Linked DNA regions of Homo sapiens: regions 1 and 2 are each linked to region 3. The links are contacts of gene promoters, found by promoter capture Hi-C in blood cells and fetal thymus (Javierre and others, 2016). All regions are on one chromosome and are shown on one strand. The core of a region is centred on a gene start or on the middle of the fragment in contact, and the rest is flanking DNA. Distances in the headings are between cores, read along the strand shown.

Region 1 (4,408 bases), core at 1,787-4,286, 3.7 Mb after region 3:
CAAATATTTCCTCTGATTCTTTTGTGCATTTTTTTTTGATGGAGTTTTGGTCTTGTTACTCAGGCTGGAGTGCAGTGGTGCGATCTTGGCTCACTGCACCCTTTGCCTCCCGGGTTCAAGCGATTCTCCTGCCTCAGCCTCCACAGTAGCTGGGATTACAGGTGCCAGCCACCACGCCCCGCTAATTTTCATATTTTTAGTAGAGACAGGGGTTTCACCATGTTGGCTAGGCTGGTCTCGAACTCCTCACCTCAGGTGATCCACCCACTTGGCCTCCCAAAGTGCTGGGATTACAGGTGTGAGCCACTCTGCCTGGCCTTGCATAACTTTTATGCAAGATTCCTTTTGAATCAAGCATCCTTCCTTTCCCTATTGCCAATTAGCGGTTGAACAGGAGTGTAGAATTACACCCTTCTGACAGTGATTCTGCTTAGGTTGATGGCCACCACTGCAAATTATGTGTAGAATTACTCAAAGAAACTCATTCCACACTGTAACTTCCCTGAGTTCAGGGATGTATAGTTGATGTTGTTAAGGATACAGTGTATAGATTACTCGGGAGTACTCCATGTAGGTGGTAGGCCAGTAAGAGTTAGAAAAGAAACCAAGTACAGAACAAAGACAATGGCTATATTGTTTCTATTTGTACCTTCTCCTGTATAGAATCCACAAAAAGTGAGTCTATGAATGACATTTTAGGGAAAATATTATGAGGCTTCCAGCTTTGGGAGAAAAGAAATAAATGAATAGAAGCAGTTCGACTAAGTAACACAGTGGAGCTATCTTGCAAATATTAAGTTTTTTTGAAGCTAATTATTGCCTTATGTTAAGGAGGATGCAAACCTTTCATAAATTGGATAGAGGCCATCAAGAATAAGGTACTTTATGCCTTATCTTTAAAGACATGATTGCATAGAACTCCCATCTAGTACATTTTATTTGGAAACATAAACTATTTCCTGCAGTTGGCTTGGTAGAAAATCTAGCACTTGCTACCCTTTGTATTCCTGTTCCTATTGCCCACCCAGAATAGTACATAATATGCTTGGGAGTTTAATTTTCAAATTCTTATGCCAGTTTTTTCTCATATATTTTTTTAAAATTGAGATAAATATCACATCACATGAAACTTACCAGTTTAAAGCGTACAATTCCATGGTTTTTAGTGTATTCACAGTGTTGTACAACCATTTCCACTGTCTAATTCCTGAACATTCCCATCACTCCCGAAAGAAACCCCATACTTGGTATCAGTTACTCCCAGTTCCCTCATCTCCTGGCAACCACTAATCTGCTTTTTGTCTCTGTGGATTGATCTAGTCTGGACATTTCATATAAATGGAATCATATAACGTATAATCTTTTGCATCTGGCTTTTTTCATTTAGCATAATGTTTTTGAAGTTCATCTGTGTTACACATGTTAGTAGTACTTCATTCCTCTTTTTGACTGAATAATTTTCCATTGAATGGATATACCACATTTTGTCCATCAGTTGATGGACATTTTGGTAGTTTTCACTTTTTGGCTGTACATTTGTGTTCAGTTTTTTTGTGTGTAAACATATGGTTTTTCAGTTCTCTTGGATATATACCTAGGATTTTGAAATTGCTGGGTCATACAGTAAGTCTATATTTAACTTTTTGAGGAATGGCCAAATTGTTTTCCACAGTGGCTGGTGCCATTTTACATTCCCACCAGCAATATCTGAGGGTTCCAGTTTTTCACATCCTGTCAGTACCTGTTGTCTTCTCTCTCTTTCCCCCATAAGGATGCAGTTCCATTTTTTAAAAAATTGTACTCATTCTAGTGGGTATGAAGTGATAGCTCATTGTGATTTTGATCTGTGTTTTCATAATGACTAGTAATGTTGATCATCTTTTCATGTGCTTATTGACCATTTTATGTCTTCTTTGGAGAACTATCTATTCAAATCCTTTGTCCAAAATTGGTCTTTTTATAGTTGAGACCATAGTTTTATAGTTTAGTTTGTAAGAGGGTTGACTTTTACAAACTAAACTATACAAGTTTTTTGCTGTCTCAGAAATAACTTTGGGTCCTTATTGTTGAGCTTGGACTAATAATATAGATCCATCCACTAAAAACTCATGCAAGGCCTAGCTGTTATTTTTAAGTATAATGATAATTGGACAATGATTTCTGTTGCTGATTGGTGGAGAATTTGCTTTATTTTCCATGAAAACATGTTTTCAAAAGTATATATTGATAGTAGGATGGATTATTACCACTTTGTCATTGCTGTAATTTGGATTAGGACTAATTTTACTACCAAATCAATGACAGACTGATAAAGTATCTCTGGTTGGTATAATCACTGGTGCTCCCTGGAAGTGTTTAAGCAGAATCTGGACAACTACTTATTGGCTTATTATAGAAGAAAGTCATGCATACTAAAGAAAGTTGGATTAGATGCCCTTTGAGATTCTTTCCAGCTCTGTTTTTACTGCCTAGAGCTGAAGTTTGTCCCAGTGAAATGGTATGAAAAGTATTGTATCTTATTTTCATCATCATTGTATAAAGAGTTTTTTTTTTTTTGAGAAGAATTTGGTTCTCAATGTAGATTTGTATTTTAAAAACAGGACAATAATTGTACTTCACATGTTAAAAAGCTTTAAATTGTTACACTTTGTTGCAGTAGTTTGCTTTTCTTCCATTCTAAAGAATATGTTTTCTTCTTACAGATTAGCAAGACATCTACAAAAGGAGGCCCAAGCTCAACACAATAATTCTGAATTCACAGAAGAACAAAAGGTACCATAAAATAATCTCTAGATATATCAGATTCCAAACAAAAAGTGTTTTGTCTTTTGAGTTCATTAAGCAAAACAAAAAACAACAAAACAAAAACAAAAAACTGTTATACTTAAGTAAAAAGAATGATATTGATTATGCTTTGCCTAACATTAAGTGATTATTTAGAGATACCATATGACTTATCAATTTAAAGCAATACAATTGTTGTACTCAGCCATTTAGGCTTTGCTTAACTTTGCTTAACTTTAGTGGAGACCATTCATGCTTTCGCTGAAGAGGGGGAGAACCCAGTCCACACTTTGGTGAAGACTGGGGAAACCCAGAGACTGGAGTGTGTCTAGAGTCCTTGGGAAAATAGAAAGATTGTGGGTAATTGCATTCCACCCCAGCACTTACTTGATTCTGAACTTTCCTAACTCCTGTCTACCTTCTCTCAGAACAAACAAATACACACAAAAAACAAAAGACCAAGACAAACCAAAACACCTCTCCACTGAAAACAATTAGTTCAAGTCAAGAATTTGGCATAAAAATCCATCTGCAAAATAAATGCGTAAGGTTGCAAAATGTTTCAATCGTGCCTTTTCTCCTTGAATTAAATTTTTTGTGTGTCAAGTTGAGTTTCTAAACTGTTAGTGATTATGAAAAATGGGCGACTGAAGCTTTAAAAGAGTTAGAAGGAATGGGAGGAAACAACTCCCATTATCTCTTGGCTCAGAGTATCTAGTGTTAAGTCAATGTTTAATCTTGTAGATAATGAAAAAAAAAGTGTCAGTCTATTCCCCATCTCTTAAGAAAAGACAGTGTGAAAACTATGGCAACATAATTTGCTCTTATTCTTTACAAAGGGAATGTACAAAGGGAGTGGTAATGATTTTTCCACACTTTTATGGTAAGCCTAACAACATCCATTTTAGTCTATTCATCTACGTTCATTTGACTCTTATTTATAGGAATTTGGGAAGAAGAAGCCCCTAAAGATTAGGGTTGCCACATTTCTTACACAAGTTTGTATATTTGCATTTTAAAAATATTTAGGATCTACTTTATCTAATGTACTTTTTTATTTTGTATTTAAAAAACAAAAATCACTACAATTTAAAAGAATTTTTTTTTTTTTTGGCTGGGTGTGGTAGCTTACGCCTGTAATCCCAGCACTTCGGGAGGCCGAGGTGGGCAGATCACTTGAGGTCAGGAGTTCGAGACCAGCCTGGCCAATATGGTAAAACCCCGTCTCTACTAAAAATACAAAAATTAGCTGAGTGTAGTGGTGTGTGCCTGTAATCCCAGCTACTAGGGAGGCTGAGGCAAGAGAATCACTTGAACCTGGGAGGCAGAGGTTGCAGTGAGCTGAGATAGCACCACTGCACTCCAGCCTGCGCGACAGCCAGAGCAAGACTCTTGTCTTGAAAATAAATAAATTTTTAAAAAAAGAATATTTTTTTTTCTTAGTAGCTCCTAATATACACAATAGATATTAGGAGTCTTAGGATTTTAGCCCTGGAAAATAATGACCACAGTGGAAATTACTGATTTGCTTAAGGAAAGGAGCCTCTGTAAAATCTGAAATTTCTCTAGGAATTGATTAGGAAATGATCAGCTGGCATCACAGAATTGGGAGTTACAGTACCTA
Region 2 (4,507 bases), core at 1,540-4,039, 3.2 Mb before region 3:
TACTGGCTACAGTTCAAACTGAACATAGCGTCCACCTGGGCCCAAGTGTAAGAGAGCAGGAGCACAGAGTCACTGACCTTCTGCAGCCACAGCTCTGGCTCTGGGCCTGGGGTGTCCGGGAGAAGGGCCAGCAGGGGCTGCACGAGCTCCCTCATCATCCTCTCCATCATGCACTGTGTCCGTCTGACAATGGGCAGAGGCGTGCTGCTGTCCAGGCTCCTCATGTTGAACATGATGCAGTGCAGCAGCAAGCTCAGTGACAGTGATTTCAGGGCCATGTCGGCATCACTCTGCAAATAGGGCAAGACTAAAGACTGGAACTTCTCCAGCACAAGGGACCACGTGTCCAGGATCTGACTTGGAGGCAGCTCCAGGAGGCATGCAGAGAGTACCGTGGAGGGGCCCGAGGCCAGCACAGGCTGCCTCAGTGCCTCAGCAGCTGGACGACAGATCACCCCCAAAACCTCTTCAAACAACCGTGGCACTTGTCGGAGTTTGGCATAAGTCTGGAAGACAGTACGAATAAGCGCCTCCTGGGCTTTTTTGGTTCGAAACTCTGTTACCTCGGCATCGATCCACGCTGAAGCCAGCAGGTCATCCAGGTCTGGCTCCAAAATCAAATGATTCAGAGATATCAAAGTCTTCAGACAGCGGAACCAGGCCGGTATGGGTGCTTGTGCATGGTTTATCAGCAGCTCAGCCACGTGGCGGTAAAAGCGGAACTGAGCCTCTTCGTGCCGAATTCTGTCGGCAGCGATGTTGTAGATATTGTTGTTGGCCACTGAGTTTAGTAGCTGTTCCACAACCAAAAGCTCTGTGGTCCAATCTGATGTGGACAGGGCTTTGCTCTGCTCCTCCTGCAGGTGTGAAATCTTCAAGCAGCCAAACAACCTGGGGAGAACCTGGAAGCAGAGAAGCTGGTTTCCCTCCTTAAAGTAAGAATCTAGAAAGAGCTTATACAGCAAGGCCACTGAGTTGGCCACAACAGAGGTATGAAGGGATGCTGCACAGTAGCCAGCATCAACCAGCCTGTTAAGCACGGTGTCCATGGGAGCCAGAAGGTTCTTCATGGCTCCCGTCTTCACATCCCCTTGCTGCTGGTCCAAGAGCCCCTCCTTGTAGGATGACAGTAGCTCAGGCTGAAAAATCCCTCCTCGGAACATGGCCTCAATCTGACTCCTGATGTCCCGGCTCAGCACCTGCCTCAGCTGGCCCTGGCCAGCCTGCGTCCATGTGCCCCCAGAGAGTAAGTGCCTCAGGACCAGGCACGGCTGGAGCAGGTGAGCAGTCACATCCCCAAAGGCACGTCTTGGGTTGACCTGCTGCTGCAGGATCAAGAGATAATGGCCAAGGGCCAGGTGAATGACCTCAAACAACTGGGCTACCACAGCTCCTTCGGGCTGCCTGCAGGCCGACCAGCAAAGCTGGCTCAGCAAGGCCACCATCAGCTCCTGTTTGGCCGTGTAGATGACAGCCAGGGCAGGTGTCGACAGGATGCCCTGGCAACATCGAAGGACAGCACAGATGTTTCTTTGGGATCCCGAAAGAGAGAACTCAGCTACTCTCTCATTGATGATCTGAACATTAAGAAAGAAAGAAAATTCATTACTGACCTTAAACCCATACATACACAAGAAAAGTATTAAAAAAAAAAATCAACAAACTCACCCCTTTCCCTCATCTTGGTAAGAAAGAAATGCCCAGATTACCATATTTCAATGAACCTGACATAAGCTTAGTGCATCAAAATAAGGCAAAGCATCTGTTTCAATTCCTCCACCCATCCATCTTCTACCAATGCAAATCTAGAAAAGGATCCGTGCCTTTGTAAATTTGCTGTCCCTTTTTTTAAAGCTGGGTTTTAAAGGGCTTAAATACCAAATGTCACTTTCTCTTAGATCCTAAACCTGCAATTGAGCTTAGATGTTACCAGGCAGAGGGAAAGTTGCACTTAAATTATGATCTTGTGGTCCAAAATACATGTTTATAGGCCAGGCACAGTGCCTCACACCCGTAATCCCAGCACTTTGAGAGGCCGAGGCAGGCGGATCACTTGAGGTCAGGAGTTTGAGAACAGCCTGGCCAACGTGGTGAAACCTGACTCCACTAAAAATGAAAAAATTAACCGGGCATGGTGGCAGGCAGCTGTAATCCCAGCTACTTGGGAGGCTGAGGCAGGAGAACTGCTTGAACCTGGGAGGCAGAGGTTGCAGTGAGCTGGGATCGAGCCACTGCACTCCAGCCTGGGTGACAGAGCGGGACCCTGTCTGAAAAAAGAAAAAAAAATGCATGTTTATAGTCAATTATACTTTTTCTATTTAAAAAAGCCAAAGCAAAAGGCACTCTTTTAAAAAGGAAAGCAGCTGGGCATGGTGGCTCATGCCTGTAATCCCAACACCTTGGGAGGCTGAGTCGGGGCGGATCACTTGAGGCCAGGCGTTCGAGAACAGCCTGGTCAACATGGTGAAACACCATCTCTACTAAAAATATAAAAATTAGCCGAGCATGGTGGTGCACACCTGTAGTCCCAGCTACTCGGGAGGCTGAGGCACAAGAATCGCTTGAACCCAGGAGGCAGAGGTTCCAGTGAGCCAAGATCACACCACTGCACTCCAGCCTGGGTGACAGAGACTCTATCTCAAAAAAATTTTTTAAAAAGGAAAGCAAATGTTATGTTGCTACTGCTTATTATACAGCAAATCTATTGTCTACTGCTCTCAAAATTCCAAAATTCACAAACACCAGAAATTATGAGAATCAGGCAGATTCTATAATTCAGTCACAGGTTAAGTTACTTGCTCCCAGCCTTATGGAATCTGAGAACCAAACCTATCCCAGGTGCTAAGTTATCAGTGCCCTAATGAGATAGGTATTATAATTTCTATTCAAGTAATTGCTGGCTTTTAAAGTTACTCTGGAAACGCTGTAACAAAGATGAGAAATCCTTAAATGTCAATGCACTATTACAGTGATCTCCAAATTTTTGATGATGATACAACTCATCGATTTTTCCTGCATTTATATTCAATAAGTGTAATTTATTTATAAATTATGCACATATGCTGCAGCACTAACATTTTATATAATTATGAAGCATACATAAAAATAAAATTTAAGTATGGCTTTTTAAACAAGGAGACATTCTAAGATTTTCTTCCCATATTCCAAAAGATCCTTTGAAATAAGCCACTTTGGTGACCACTGGTTTATTATTTTAAAAAGTGACCCAGTTTGGAACACAATCTCAAGAACCATTAAGCCCTATGCGCCATTGGGCAGCTCAACCTTCGTTCCCCTCCGTTACTAGCCTCTAACGATTTTCTCTCAGCCCGCACACTCATGAGGGTGAGGCAGTGTTATGGCTTCATAGCCCAGGATTTACACTCAGGCAGAGTGAGGTTCAAATCCCAGCTGTGCCACTAACTAGCCATGTGACTTTAGGAAAGTTAAACTTCTTTGAGCCTGGCACACATGAAGTGCTCACTAGTAGTAGTTTTTATTGTATCTAGCTATTCTCATGGTATTTAAACACACTCAGTTTTGACAATGAAGTTCCTACTTCTGATCTGAGACTTCAAAATCACTTTCAGTCAAAAACTGAGGTGGCCCCGGGTTGCCGGCCAAGCCACTAGTGGCACTTGTGGCTCGAAGGCCGTAGTGGCAAAAAAAAAAAAAAAAAAAACCTTTGAGGAAATTCCTGTCCGGATTTTGGCCTTTGATCTCCCTCTAGCCCAAAAGAAAGGTAAAGAAGAAGAAAAACAAATCAGAGAAGCATAATTTGCTAGCTACCTTTTCCAATTAAAAAGGTAATCAATGACCTGTTTATGAAATCGTTCCAAGCTTTTTTTGAATATTAAATAACAAAATGCTTAGAGCATATGATACACATTCAATAGTTACTATTTTAATTCCAATAATATTACATCCTTTTTCTCCTACCTTAGTATTTCCTATATCTTCATACAATTGACACTAAAACAAGTTTCCAGCATTAACAAGAAATCAATGGAGATGCATGCAACACATACAGAACAGAAAAGTGAATTACCTTGACTAGGGAAATCTGAAGATTAATGGTCTTTCCATTCTTGAGGAGATTCTGCAATTTTCTGCTATGTAAAATGTTATCTATATAGATCCAAAGCCTTTCAACAATATCTTCCTTCAGTTCAAGCTTTTTCTTATAAAATGCAACCAATGATTGTCTTGCCCAATCAAGTAACACCTGAATTTGAAGGACACATACACTGAAAATAAATTTATTTGCTGAGAGAAAGATGTTAGACATTATAGGGACATTACAGGTATAAGCAAATCCAATTGCCACGGGGGCGGCGGGGGAGAACCTCTCTTTTACAACTTACCTTTGATAATATTACTTACGTGTTCTGGTATTTTAAAATGTTTATTATTAAAGGATAAGAACAGGAAAACAACAAATTTGTCTTCAGCTAGGGCAAATTAAAAGTTTCAGGTGAAACTAACACGTCTTAACCCGTTTTTTGAG
Region 3 (4,344 bases), core at 371-2,870:
CAGGCTAGAGTCCAGTGGCACTATCATGGCTCACCACAGCCTCAACCTTCAGGGCTCAGGTGATCCTCCCACTTCAGCCTCCCGAGTAGATGGGACTACAGGCACCTGCCACCACCCCCAGCTAATTTTTGTAGAGACAAGGTTTTGCCATGTTGTCCAGGCTGGTCTTGAACTCCTGGGCTCAAGGGATCCGGCCACCTCAGCCTCCCAAAGTGCTAGGATTATAGGCATGAGCCACTGTGCCCAGCCTACCTTCAACGTATCTAACTGGTTACTAACTTTTAGGATTCGGCCTATGTCTCACAACCTTCTTGCTTACTCAACATCCTTGTCTCTTAAGCCACTAGCTTCTTCTCTATGGTTAACACTTTTTATGAGTTTTATTCATCTGCTTATTTTTCTTATCCTCTATACCAGAATTGAATATTTTCAAATAAAGCACACTCATGTTACAATCTTTGAAATGAAAAAAAAAAATGCATAGGATTAGAAAAGAAACCAATTTTAATAAACTATATTTTGAAGTATAGTTCTATATTAAACAACAAGATCTAGGCCAGGTGCAGTGGCTCATGCCTGTAATCCCAGCAATTTGGGAAGTCGAGGTGGGAGGATTGCTTGAGGCCAGGGGTTCAAGACCAGCCTGGGCAACATGGAGAGATTCCCCATCTCTTTCTTTACACACACACACACACACACACACAAAATATCTGATAGCAACAGGTGCAGTCATTACCACAATTTCGAGTAGTGATGAGCTTAATAATATTTCGAGTTATCACCAACAACTGTAAAGTAACATGAAAACGTCTGTGATGACTATTGCCCACAAAGTCACAGGTACTGCTAATACTCCTGGTATTTGTAGTCAAATTCATAATAAAGGAAATGCTAGGTTTCAGTTGGTATTTTGTCCCGACGGTCTGTGGACGGCAGGTTAGAACGCCCGTCCAAGCCAGGAGGGTGGACCTAGCACTGCAGGGTCCACCTCGGGCCAATCAACTATATTCCCGAGGCGGGGGCCTGCGCTTCCCGGACCCAGCTGCCCTCAGGGGAGAGAGGACACACTTAAGAGTTTGGGGCCGGCGTGGTAGCTCATGCCCCTGATCCCAGCACTTCGGGAGGCTGAGGCGTGAAGATCACTTGTAGCAGGAGTTTGAGACCAGTCTAGCCAACTTGGCGAGACCCTGTCCCTAAAAAAAATTTTTTTTTAATTAGCCAGTTGTGGTGAGCGCCTGTAGTCCCAGCTACTCGGGAGGCTGAGGTGGGAGGATCGCTGGGCTCAGGAGTTCCAGACTGCAGTGAGCCATGATGGCGGCACTGCACTCCAGCGCGGTGAGACTCAGTCTCAAAAATAAAAGGGGGAGGGGTTGGGGGTAAAATTAGTTGTGAAATCAAGTAAGACTTCCTGGGACAGAACAATCAAAGGGGTGGCGCCGGGTCCTCCAAAGAGCTACTAGCTCAGCCCAAGCCCCGCCTCGGCCCCCAGGGCAGCGGCCCGCAGAGCTCCACCCGGCAGGCGCCCGGGAAACTCCGCCCCCCGGCCGGCAGGGGGCGCGCGCGCCGCCGGCCCCGCCCCGTGGACGCGGGTTCCGTGGGCGTTCCCGCGGCCAGGCATCAGCAATCTATCAGGGAACGGCGGTGGCCGGTGCGGCGTGTTCGGTGGCGGCTCTGGCCGCTCAGGCGCCTGCGGCTGGGTGAGCGCACGCGAGGCGGCGAGGCGGCAGCGTGTTTCTAGGTCGTGGCGTCGGGCTTCCGGAGCTTTGGCGGCAGCTAGGGGAGGATGGCGGAGTCTTCGGATAAGCTCTATCGAGTCGAGTACGCCAAGAGCGGGCGCGCCTCTTGCAAGAAATGCAGCGAGAGCATCCCCAAGGACTCGCTCCGGATGGCCATCATGGTGCAGGTGCGGGCCGCTGTGCGGGCGGCGGGGCGGGGACGCGGCGCCCCGGGTTAACTGTGTCCGGGAAGGCTGGGGGAGGGCGGGCCCAGGGAGCGAGCGGGCCCGGGCCCTCGGAGCGGCACTTGGGGCCTATGGGGCCGCGGCCGCCCCTCCTCCCGAGCGGCCCGGCCGACCCTTCCGGAAGGTTTTGCTGATGTTGCAGGAAAAGCCCGGGAAATAAAGTCTGCAGCTGGTGTTGCCTTTCGCTTTGTGAAAACGAGGAGCCTCTTCTCTTCTCCTTTCTGGGTGGCGGTGTTTTATTACTGCCGTTCGCCTCAGGGGTTGGGGGGGAATTGTACATGGTCTCTTTAAGCTAATCTGATTTTGACCTATCTTGTTCTGGAGGGTTTTTGTTCTACATGGATGGTGGCGACTGACATGTGGGTTTTTTTTTTTTTTGTTAAACCTATTTTTGGCAGTCATTTCAACACGTCATTTAAACGCTCACTCTCATTTTTTATTTTAATTAGGCAGAACTATGCAGAAAGGTGTCATTTCTGTACAGTACATTCACTTTGAGCCTAATTTGTGCTTTAAAGTAACATTTTCCCCAAATTTTCCAGATTCACAGACGCGTTCTCTTGGTGCATTTGCAGCTGTCTGGTTTGAGTAAGAGTGGCTCCAGGGGGGTTTCTCATGTGGGCTTTTTGATAGATTGAATCCCCTTCTGAGGTTTCCTGAGCCTTCTGTGAGGTGGTGGGCTTGAAGGCCCCTGTCATTTCCCAGGGGCTCCTGCCTCCAGCTTCCAGTTTGCCGATGTCTACCTTTGTATTAATAATTCTGGTTCTCATCTGCCCTGTTCCTCCTCGCTTCCAACATATTACCCAAGCTTAGTGCTCATGGTCAAGGTAGCTTGATTTTCCTCCCTTCCATGAGCTGTAATGTGTTTTAGGAATGACCAGATATCCCTCAGTGGATTTTCAGTACTTAGTACAAGGGAGGGCGACATTTACCGAGTGGATACCCAAGTGCCAGGTGTACTTCCGTTATCTTATTTCACAATATGCCTGTCATCTTGGTGTCCTCGGGGCATACCTAAGTCAGTACGTGGCACACAGTGCTTATTTGGTAGGCATTTTTTAAGTTCTAAGCACTCTGTTAGGTTTTAAGGACACAGAATCCACCTTTGGGAATTTCCAGTTTGGTTAAACGGGAAATGACTGGTAAACAAACGTTACCGTAAGAGAGGATGGATGCCACCTGATGGAGCTGTGCTCTAGGCATTGTGTGCCTAGGAGTCCGAGATGACCCAGCTAAGGGTGGAAGCTTGATTAGGAGTCGTTAATTCACAGAAGTGGAGCAGAAAGATGAGAATAGGGAAGTAGACAGGGCCTACAATTTGAAGAGCCTTGTTGCCCACTAAGGAACCTAGAACTTACTTTGAATATACAAGGCAGCCTGTTATGAAGTTCTCACTCCTGGTGCAGGAGCTCTTAACCCAGGGTCTGTGGGATGGTAGGTAGAAGGCAAGAGGTCCATGAGTTTAGATAAGAAAAAATTGATATCTCCATCTCCACTAACCTCTAGATAAAATTATTTCCTCTAATCATAAATGTAAGCAGCAAAGCAAAGGCATATTAGCAGTCCCTATTTTTTTTTCACCAGTGATAATTACAGATATTTTCATATCACTTTACAGTTGGAAGTTTTTCAAAATATAATTTACTCTCATTGCTACAAAAATCACAGTTATTAGAGGCTGTACTAGATCTTGTTATTTAATGCTTAAAAGCTCACGGGTTACTGTACCCAAATTACCTTTCAAATGTTTTGATAATTATCTCAGTGTTTCCTTTTCGAGCCTTTTTGTTTGTTTTGTTTTTTGAGATGGGGTCTCACTATGTTGCCCAGGCTGGTCTCAAACTCCTGAGCTCAAGCGATCCATGCACCTCGGCCCCACAAAGTGCTAGGGTTACAGGCATGAGCCACCGTGACTGGCCATTTGCGAGCCTTTTTATTACGCATTTTTAAATGTTATTCTGAGAAAGGGACATCCAGGCGCCTTAACAGGTGGGCAGAGTACCGTGTTCTGGTGGAAAGACAAACAAAACCCAAGTCCAGACTGTGTTGAGGCTAGAACAACACCGCTGTGGAGGAAGTTAGAGGAGGCTTAGCTGTGGGGGAGGCCGGATGGAGGAAACTGAACCTGATCAAGTTTAGCATTCTGGGGCCGGGCTTGGTGGCGCATGCTTGTAATCTCAGCACTTTGGGAGGCTGGGGTGGGCAGATTACTTAAGCTCAGCAGTTTGAGACCAGCCTGGCCAACATGGTGAAACCTGTCTCTACAAAAAAATGCAATGATTAGCGGGTCGTGGTGGTGCGTGCCTGTTAAGTCCCAGCTACTCCGGAGGCTGAAGCTGGAAGATTGCTTGAGCCTGGGAGGTGGAGGTTGCAGTGAGCTGAGA

What was found. The method cuts DNA at HindIII sites, captures the fragments that hold promoters and counts their contacts. A CHiCAGO score of 5 or more calls a contact.
Region 1: a contact is called between a fragment that was not itself captured here and the fragment with the promoter of PARP1 in region 3, in 1 of 17 cell types (neutrophils). The highest score is 7.2, in neutrophils.
Region 2: a fragment that was not itself captured here is called in contact with the fragment with the promoter of PARP1 in region 3 in 1 of 17 cell types (total CD4 T cells); the score reaches 5.3 in total CD4 T cells.

What each region holds. Positions count from the first base shown.
Region 1 is chr1:222,701,512-222,705,919 of GRCh38, reverse strand. AIDA (axin interactor, dorsalization associated) reads left to right here. Exons shown (of 10, transcript NM_022831.4): 2 at 2,703-2,772. Among named protein-coding and RNA genes, the nearest start is that of AIDA, 8.8 kb to the left of the region's middle. The HindIII fragment of the contact is 807 bases long and covers 2,633-3,439 here.
Region 2 is chr1:229,631,987-229,636,493 of GRCh38, reverse strand. URB2 (URB2 ribosome biogenesis homolog) reads right to left here. Exons shown (of 10, transcript NM_014777.4): 3 at 4,049-4,225; 4 at 1-1,577. Among named protein-coding and RNA genes, the nearest start is that of URB2, 8.0 kb to the right of the region's middle. RefSeq lists enhancers at 1-188, 189-690. The HindIII fragment of the contact is 2,106 bases long and covers 1,737-3,842 here.
Region 3 is chr1:226,405,369-226,409,712 of GRCh38, reverse strand. It overlaps PARP1 (poly(ADP-ribose) polymerase 1), which reads left to right and starts at 1,620. Exons shown (of 23, transcript NM_001618.4): 1 at 1,620-1,903. The coding sequence starts at 1,784. RefSeq lists a cis regulatory region at 1,025, enhancers at 953-1,097, 1,276-1,405, 2,996-3,055 and silencers at 1,436-1,695, 1,946-2,045. The HindIII fragment of the contact is 6,506 bases long and covers 1-2,770 here.